3 separate regions of the Homo sapiens genome follow, and all the other regions are linked to region 2. The links are contacts of gene promoters, found by promoter capture Hi-C in human tissues and cell types (Jung and others, 2019). All regions are on one chromosome and are shown on one strand. The core of a region is centred on a gene start or on the middle of the fragment in contact, and the rest is flanking DNA. Distances in the headings are between cores, read along the strand shown.

Evidence for each region. The method cuts DNA at HindIII sites, captures the fragments that hold promoters and counts their contacts. A contact is called where the count stands out against the background at its distance.
Region 1: a contact is called between a fragment that was not itself captured here and the fragment with the promoter of WBP2NL in region 2, in 1 of the 25 tissues and cell types used here (aorta).
Region 3: a fragment that was not itself captured here is called in contact with the fragment with the promoter of WBP2NL in region 2 in 2 of the 25 tissues and cell types used here (H1 embryonic stem cells and small bowel).

The regions. Positions count from the first base shown.
Region 1 is chr22:41,755,861-41,758,560 of GRCh38, reverse strand. It overlaps MEI1 (meiotic double-stranded break formation protein 1), which reads right to left. Exons shown (of 31, transcript NM_152513.4): 18 at 28-196. Among named protein-coding and RNA genes, the nearest start is that of CCDC134, 43 kb to the left of the region's middle. The HindIII fragment of the contact is 4,539 bases long and covers 1-2,700 here.
Region 2 is chr22:41,997,378-42,000,077 of GRCh38, reverse strand. It overlaps WBP2NL (WBP2 N-terminal like), which reads right to left and starts at 1,290. Exons shown (of 6, transcript NM_152613.3): 1 at 1,198-1,290. The coding sequence starts at 1,259. SEPTIN3 (septin 3) reads right to left here. Exons shown (of 12, transcript NM_001363845.2): 12 at 1,857-2,700. RefSeq lists enhancers at 709-1,223, 1,224-1,740 and a silencer at 1,338-1,397. The HindIII fragment of the contact is 18,305 bases long and covers 1-2,700 here.
Region 3 is chr22:41,794,478-41,797,177 of GRCh38, reverse strand. MEI1 (meiotic double-stranded break formation protein 1) reads right to left here. Exons shown (of 31, transcript NM_152513.4): 29 at 1,636-1,767; 30 at 1,331-1,443. Among named protein-coding and RNA genes, the nearest start is that of CCDC134, 4.9 kb to the left of the region's middle. The HindIII fragment of the contact is 6,025 bases long and covers 1-2,700 here.

The sequences.
Region 1 (2,700 bases), core at 69-2,568, 240 kb after region 2:
ACCAGCCACCCACCTCTGTGCACTGACCTGTCTTCATGGATGTAGGCCAAGTAGAAGAGGAGCAGGATGCAGTACTGTCTCTGGCGAGCAGCTCCCTCCATGTACTGGCGATCAGACAGGAAGGCAAGGCTTTCAGGGCTCCTGCTGCTTATCTGGGGCAGCCCATGCTGCAGGAGCTCAGACACTGCAGAGAGTTCTAGGGAGGGAATAAGTAGAGGAAAGCCACACAGAGAACATAGAAGAACAGGTAATCAGCACATTAGTACCTACTACATGCAGAGTACTGCACAGGGCAGCAAGGGTAAATGCAGTATAGTGGGAAATAAGGAAATCAGAGGCTCCTCTTCCTTTGAGCAAGGTTCAACCTACCGGGAAAGACTAAACTTCACAAGCAGAAGGACATGGATATGTCTCAAAAATTAACGTTCATTCCTTTTTTGTTTTGTTTTTCTTTTGACAGAGTCTCGCTCTGTTGCCCATGCTGGAGTGCAATGGCATGATCTCGGCTCACTGCAACCTCCCCGTTCTGGGTTCAAGCAATTCTCCTGCCTCAGCCTCCCAAGTAGCTGTGATTACAGGCACCCACCACCACGCCCAGCTAATTTTTTGTATTTTTAGTAGAGGCAGGGTTTTGCCATGTTGGCCAGGCTGGTCTCAAACTCCTGACCTCAGGTGATTCACCCACCTTGGCCTCCCAAAAACATTCATTCTTTCATTCATTTGACATATGTTCATTGAGTGGCTACTACTCAGGACAGGCTGTGAGACCCAGGCCCTACCTCCAGGAACTGGCAGCTGATGGGAAGAGACACATAATGAGACAGGCAATTGCAGGACATGTGATCAGCGCTATATTGAGGAGGGAGTGACTCAGGCTGCCTGGCATGGGGAAGGAAAGGTCAAAGAGGAAGAAACTGTGGGCCAGGCTGTAATCCCAGCACTTTGGGAGGCTGAGGAGGGTATATCACCTGAGGTCAGGAGTTCAAGACCAGCTTGGCCAACATAGTGAAACCCCGTCCCTACAAAAATACAAAAATTAGCCGGCTATGATGGCGGGCGCCTGTAATCCCAGCTACTTGGGAGGCTGAGGTGGGAGAATCGCTTGAACCTGGGAGGCAGAGGTTGCAGTGAGCTGAGATGGCACCATTGCACTCCAGCCTGAATGACAAGCGCGAAACTCCATCTCAGAAAAAAGAAAGCAAGCTTTGGGAGGCCGAGGCTGGCGGATCACGAGGTCACGAGATCAAGACCATCCTGGCTAACACGGTGAAAACCCGTCTCTACTAAAAATACAAAAAAATAGCCAGGCGAGGTGGCGGGCCCCTGTAGTCCCAGCTACTTGGGAGGCTGAGGCAGGAGAATGGCGTGAACCCAGAAGGCGGAGCCTGCAGTGAGCCGAGATCATGTCACTGCACTCCAGCATGGGCGACAGAGCGAGACTCCGTCTCAAAAAAAGAAAGAAAGAAAGAAACAAACTGTGGAGGGTGAGGAGAAAAGAGGCAGCGACAGGAGAAAAGAGAAAAGGAAGCAAGGTGTTCAGAGGCCTGAAGGCATGAGAAGACATGCCATGTTTCCATTCAGTGTCACTGGATAGTCAGTGAATAGATGTGGGGTGTCAGAAGCTGGGGAACTATGTGATGTAATCTGCAGTTGGACTGTGAAAGACCTTTAAGCAAATGCCACTTAAGGAATTGGGACTTCATCCTGAGGGCAGAGACTTCTAGATTTCTTACGAAAACGGTTTCATAAAAGAAAGAATATTTTAATACCAAAAGAACAGGAAAGAAGGATAGGCGTGGTGGCTCAAGCCGGTAATGCCAGCACTTTGGGAAACCAAGGCAGGTGGATCACCTGAGGTCAGGAGTTCGAGACCAGCCTGGCCAACATGGCAAAACCCTGTCTCTATTAAAAATACAAAAATTAGACAAGCGTGGTGGCAAGTGCCTGTAGTCCTAGCTACTCAGGAAGCTGACGCAGGAGAATTGCTTGAACCCGGGAGGTGGAGGTTGCAATGAGCCGAGATCACGCCACTGCACTCCAGCCTGGGCAACAGAACAAGACGCTGTCCCAAAACAAAAAAAAAGGAAAGAAAAAGACTGACTTCAGAGTTTAAAATTTGAATAAAGGCCAGGTGCGGTGGCTCACACCTGTAATCCTAGCACTTTGGAGTCCAAGGCAGGTAGATTGTTTGAGGCCAGGAGTTCAAGACCAGCCTGGCCAACATGGCAAAACCCCATCTCTACTAAAAATACAAAAAAATCACCTGGGCATGGTGACATATGCTTGTAGTCCCAGCTATTCGTGAGGCTGAGACACAAGAATCACTTGAATCTGGGAGGTGGAGGTTGCAGTGAGCTGACATCACTCAACTCCAGCCTGGGCAACAGACTGAGACTCTGCCTCAAAAAACAAAACAAACAAAAAAACCTAAATAAAGTCAACTTTATCCTTATGTTCCACATTTCACCATGGACCAGAGAAAACTTCATCACTATTTGACACTACTCCACAGACTGATGTGTGGAGACCACAGCTGAAAGCCAGGGGAGTTAAGATGTTAAGACTTTGTTTTCAGATAATCCTTCCAGCAGTGAGTGGATGAGAGATTGAAAGACAGGACCTCAGTTGAAGGTCAACCGAAAGAATCCATCCTGCCAGGGCCAAGTCCTGGGCAAGCAGAGGGTGAGGATAGCGCATGTC
Region 2 (2,700 bases), core at 41-2,540:
AGGGCAAGTCAGAGCCCAGAAAGGAGCGCAATTTAGAACTGCACAGCGGGGGAGACTGAGTTTGAGTGTAGGAAACGGGAAAGGGGGCGTGTGGGGTAAAGAGGTGAGCGCAGTGGAGTCAGGCCTTAGTGAACAAGTGTGCTTGAAGGTGGAGATGGGCACCCCTCTGGCTGAGTCTGCTCCAGTAGAGAGCTCAGGGGCCAGCAGCAGGCACCGCAAGGAGCAAAGCAACTGGTGTAAGCCCCACAGCTTCCTGCGACCAACAGTGCTTTGTTGTGCCCAGGCATCTGTTCAGTCCCATCTTTTATTTTAAGACAGGATCTGGCTCTGTTACCCAGGCTGGAGTGCAGTGGTACAATCTGAGCTCACTGCAGCCCAAACTCCTGGGTTCAAGCAATCCTCTTACCATCGCCTCCCAAGCAGCTGGGATTATGGGTGCACACCACCATGGCCCACTAATTTTCTACTTTTTGTAGAGATGGGGTCTCACTATGTTGCCCAGTCTTGTCTCAAACTCCTGGGCCACCTCAGCTTCCCAAACTGTTGGGATAAGAGGCATGAGCCACTGCACCTGGCCTCAATTTTTTCAATTTTGTTTTTAAAAGCAGACATCTCCCTGGTTGGAGCAAGGAGGAAACATGGCTTTAGAAAGTTTCCAGGTCCAAGGAGAAGCCCCACAACAGTTTGAGATCTTTCCAGAATGATCCACACTCGACCTCCTCATCCCTCTTACCAAAGAGCGACACCTTGTTCGTGGAAGTAGGAGGAGATACACACCCAGTACCTGTCCTCATCCAACAAAGTCGCAGGCACCCAAGGGCAGCCACGCTGCCACCGAAGGCCCCCGGCTGCTCACAACCGCCGGTCAGCTCCGGCCTCTCTTCGAAGGACACACGCGTCTCGCACCCCCTCCCCGCCCCGCCCTGAGGAGACATGCGTCTGGGCCCCGCGCCTTGAAAAGGCGCATTCCCACCCCCACCCCTCAAACGCGCGAGGCCACGCGTTCCGGCCTCCGCCACCTCCACATGCCGGAACACCAGTGAGGGGCGCGCGCTCCCAAAGGTCGGGGGCGGAGCTAAGAGCGCCGCGCCCAAAAAAGGCGGCAAAGTCCCTGACTCGCTGAGAGTTTGCGAGCCGCCATGTCTATCTCATTCGTCTCCTCTCCTCCGACAGCACGCCGTGCTTCCCCTCAGGCACCTTTCACCGTTAGGGATGAGGGCTCCGCGGCGGTTCTCGGTGTGGCTCTGATTCACCGCCATCTTGCTTCGGGCCTCCTGCCGCCCCGTAGATGGAAAGGGGCGGGACCTGCGCCGAGCTGTGGGGCGCGGTTCTGAAGGGGAGGGCGGAGATTATGACGTAAGGAGGAGGAGGAGGAGGAGCGAGACCGGGTCACGTGGTGGGGCAGTGCCCGGGGAGCGGGGCGGAGTCAGGGTAGAGGCCCCCGCCGAGAAAGGGGAGAAAGAGGCGGGCCCTGAGAATTGGCTCGAGCGCGAAGGGGTGAGTGATAGGTGAGTGGCCTCCCGACCTCACCTGCCCCCTTAGCCCCCTGCCTTTAGGTATGGACTTGGGTTGGTCCTGTCAGGAATGATCTCAGCTCACTGCACCTCCAACCTCCCATGCTCAAGCCATCTTCCCACCTCAACCTCCCATCCATTACTCACTTTGGTTATGAAACACTAGAAAATAATGACTGAGGCCCGACCTGACGCCAACTGAAGATGAACTGACCTCACAAAGTGTTTTCATCTCTAATATCTGTGGCTATTTCTTACCAAGAGAGTCTCACCCTCCACACATGGGTGAGATGACATAATGGCTGATTTGGTCAAGGAGCACAAATAAGACAGGCCAGGCAGTTACTGTTCAAACAGCAATGTTTAGTTGTACAACACATAAAGTCTAGCAACAATTACAGGACCAGTTTGAGTGTCTGTTTGCTTGTTTTCAATTGGGAAATTTAACTGTAATGTCACCGTAAGATTGGCTGGGACTGGTAACATTTAAGAAACGGGTTGTTCTTGCATCCCCTAGGCGTGGGCCTCTTGCTCCATCAGGACTTGGTTGTAGATGAATGGCCCACAAGTCACCAGCCTTTGAGCAAGTTGTGTCCAGGTGGAGACAGGAAGAGGGTGGGCAAAGGGGAATTCTATAAAGACACAGTGTGTGGGGCAGTGGCAGTCAACATTCGCAAACATTCATGCATCTGATGGGGGGCTTTGCCCTCCCTTGGGTATTTTCCATTAGCCTACAGTGACCACCTGTGGTCAGGCTAATTCATTACTCACATTAATGGGGAAGGGGGTTGGGGGTAGGAGTAGGTAGGGTAGGTGGGAAGAGATCCCTCTTATTGCTGAGTGGACAGAAGGGTGCTAGTTTTTCCTTAGCGTGTACATATTGTGGGTTTCTGGGGGTTTGTGTGTGTGTTTAGTTTTTGTTTGTTTGTTTGGACAGAAGAAAGTCAACTCCAGCAATGTCTTCTTAGGAAAACCACTCTTCCTCAGTGGCTGCGTTATGAGGTGGGGAGGATGTACAACCGCACTCTGGGACAGCCACAAGTGGTGATTTTTTAAAAAGTGATCCTAGCCCTTGCTCCCCAACATCTGTAGTGACCCACCCTCATGAATATCTTTAAGTAATGAAGGAGACACCCTTGTCCCACTTTGGGGCTCACACAGCTGATCTCAATGAATCTAGTAAGCA
Region 3 (2,700 bases), core at 197-2,696, 200 kb after region 2:
GTATCTACAAAAATTAGCCAGGCATGCTGGTGTGCACCTGTAGTCTCAGCTACTCGGAGGGCTGAGGCGGGAGGATCCCTTGGGCCCAGGAGGTGAAGGCTACAGTGAGCTATGTTCACACCAGTGCACTCCAGCCTGGGTGACAAAGCAAGACACTGTCTTAAAAAAAATAAATAAAAAGAATGTAAAAAATATAATTTTATTCATGAAACAAAATTTTTTGTTTTTTTTCTGGGACAGAGTCATGTTTTGTCGCCCAGGGTGCAGTACAGTGGTGTGATCTTGGCTCACTGCCCTCCGCATCCCCGATTCAAGCGATTCTTGTGCCTCAGCCTCCCGAGTAGCTAGGACTACAGGCACATGCCACCACACCCAGCTAATTTTGGTATTTTTCATAGAGATGAGGTTTCACCATGTTGGCCAGACTGGTCTCAAACTCCTGGCCTCAGGCGTGAGCCACCGCACTTGGCCTATTCATGAAACAAAGTTTTGGCTACATTTTGACTGCAACTCATCATGTGAAGTCAGGTATGGAATTTTCCACCTGTAGCATCACATCAGCACTCAAAAAGTTTCAGATTTTGGAGCACTTTGGATTTCTAATTTTTGTATTAGGGATGCTCAACCTGTACTACAAGTACCTTAACACTCCTAGCTGATGTGAGGATTAAATATAATGCATGTAGCCGGGCATGGTGGCTCATGCCTGTAATCCCAGCACTTTGGGAGGCCGAGGGGGGCAGATCGCAAGGTCAGGAGTTCGAGACCAGCCTGTCCAATATGGTGAAACCCTGTCTCTACTAAAAATAGAAAAAAAAAAAAAAAACCTGGGCGTGGTGGCAGGCACCTGTAGTCCCAGCTACTCGGGAGGCTGAGGCAGGAGAATCGCTTGAGCCTGGGAGGCGGAGGTTACAGTGAGCCAAGATCGTGCCACTGCACTCCAGCCTGGGCGACGGAGCAAGACTCCATCTCAAAAATGAATAAATAAATATATATATATGTAAAATGCATGTAATGTGCCTGCTTTCTGTAGGAACTTAATATTAACAGGACACGGCATTGTTGTTGTCAACACTGTTAATTGACCCCTGCTTACTTTAGAAGACTAGTGCACCTAGGTCCTGAAGCATGATGCCACAGCTTCTTATGGCCTGGGAGAGCTTGCCCAGGCCAAGACAGGTCAGCCAAAGCCACACCTTGCAGAACATCACCCACCTCTTCATGAGAGAGGACACTGCTACTCCGGTACCGCATAAACTGGCCCAGGAAGAGAAGCCCCAAACACCCAGTGATTTGGCATCTCCTTCATCATAGATGCAAGAAAGGATACAGCATGTCCTGCAGGGGTGGCTGGCCTGAGGAGGTGCTAGGGGGAAGGCCCTCCAAGGAGGCCTGCAGGGTCTGGGCCATGCTGTGGTCAGCCAGGTGTCCCATGCTCTGGAGCTGCAGGGAGAAGAGGGCAGGGAAGACAGGCCTCCTCAGTGCCCATTCCACACAGGCCCTAACTGCCTCCATCCTCTGTACTTCCCTCCTCCCATTCCTTGGTTGCTGTGGCCAGAGCTCCCACCCTCCAAGAGAAGATGGTGTTGAGGGTCTAGCTTTACAGTGGCTGCATGGCCTCCCCTTCCCACCCACCTGCTGGAAGAAGCCATGCAGGGCCTGGAGTGTGGTGTTCGAGAGGGTAGACAGGTCAGCCAAAGCCACACCTTGCAGAACATCACCCACCTCTTCATGAGAGAGGACACTGCTACTCCGGTACCGCATAAACTGGCCCAGGAAGAGAAACCCCCAAACACCCAGTGATTTGGCATCTCCTTCATCATAGACAACTGCTGTGCCCCAACTTTAGGAGACACTGTCCTGAAGCCCACAGAACCTGCCTGCCTTCAAGGAGCTCAGAGTTAGTGGGCAGAGGTGGGACTGTGTCATGGGGAAGTGGGGTAAGTAAGGCAACCTGTGAGATCCTGAGAGAGCTGGCCCTCCTGACCCCTTTGGCCTTGGCTCCCTCCTACCCAACCTTGCACTGAACACTCATGGCCAAAATGAACTACGTGTGGCTCCCCTGACATACCACCATGTGCTCTTGTACCTGTTGTTTGTACTTCACTACCTGGAATACCTTTCCTCCTCTCTGCCTATTAATCTCTCAAGCCACAGCTAAAATGTTACCTTCACTGCTGAGAAGCAATTACTCTTTCCTCTTTGTTCCTACACCAACCACTGATGTACTTGTTGATGATCCACTTCGCTGTCATTCTTAGGCCTGCTGCTTTGTTATTTATTCAAGGGGCACTTACTGTGTGCCCCACAGTTAGCATCTCCTCTACTCTACCACTTGTAGCATCATATTTACATTACTAGTTTACTTGTCTGTCGTCCTCTTTAGACTGAGGGACCCTAAAGGCAGAGTATCTGGTTCATTGATATCCTTAGTATCTAGCAGACCTGGCATGTGGTAGACAGGCCCTGGTCAACATGTCATGAGAGAAATAGGGGAAAGGGTGTCGGAGTCCCCTGGAGTGAGGAGATATGGGCATTCAGAGGAATTCTTTCAGCAAGTCTCTTGTAGGGTGAAGGCCTGCCGAGCCCTTCCACCTTCTTTAAGGATTAGGGTTACCTAAAGTAAGGAGACCCTGGCCTCTTCAGCACCACCCAGCTCATGACACTCCTCAGACCACAAGATATCCTTTCTGCACTTAC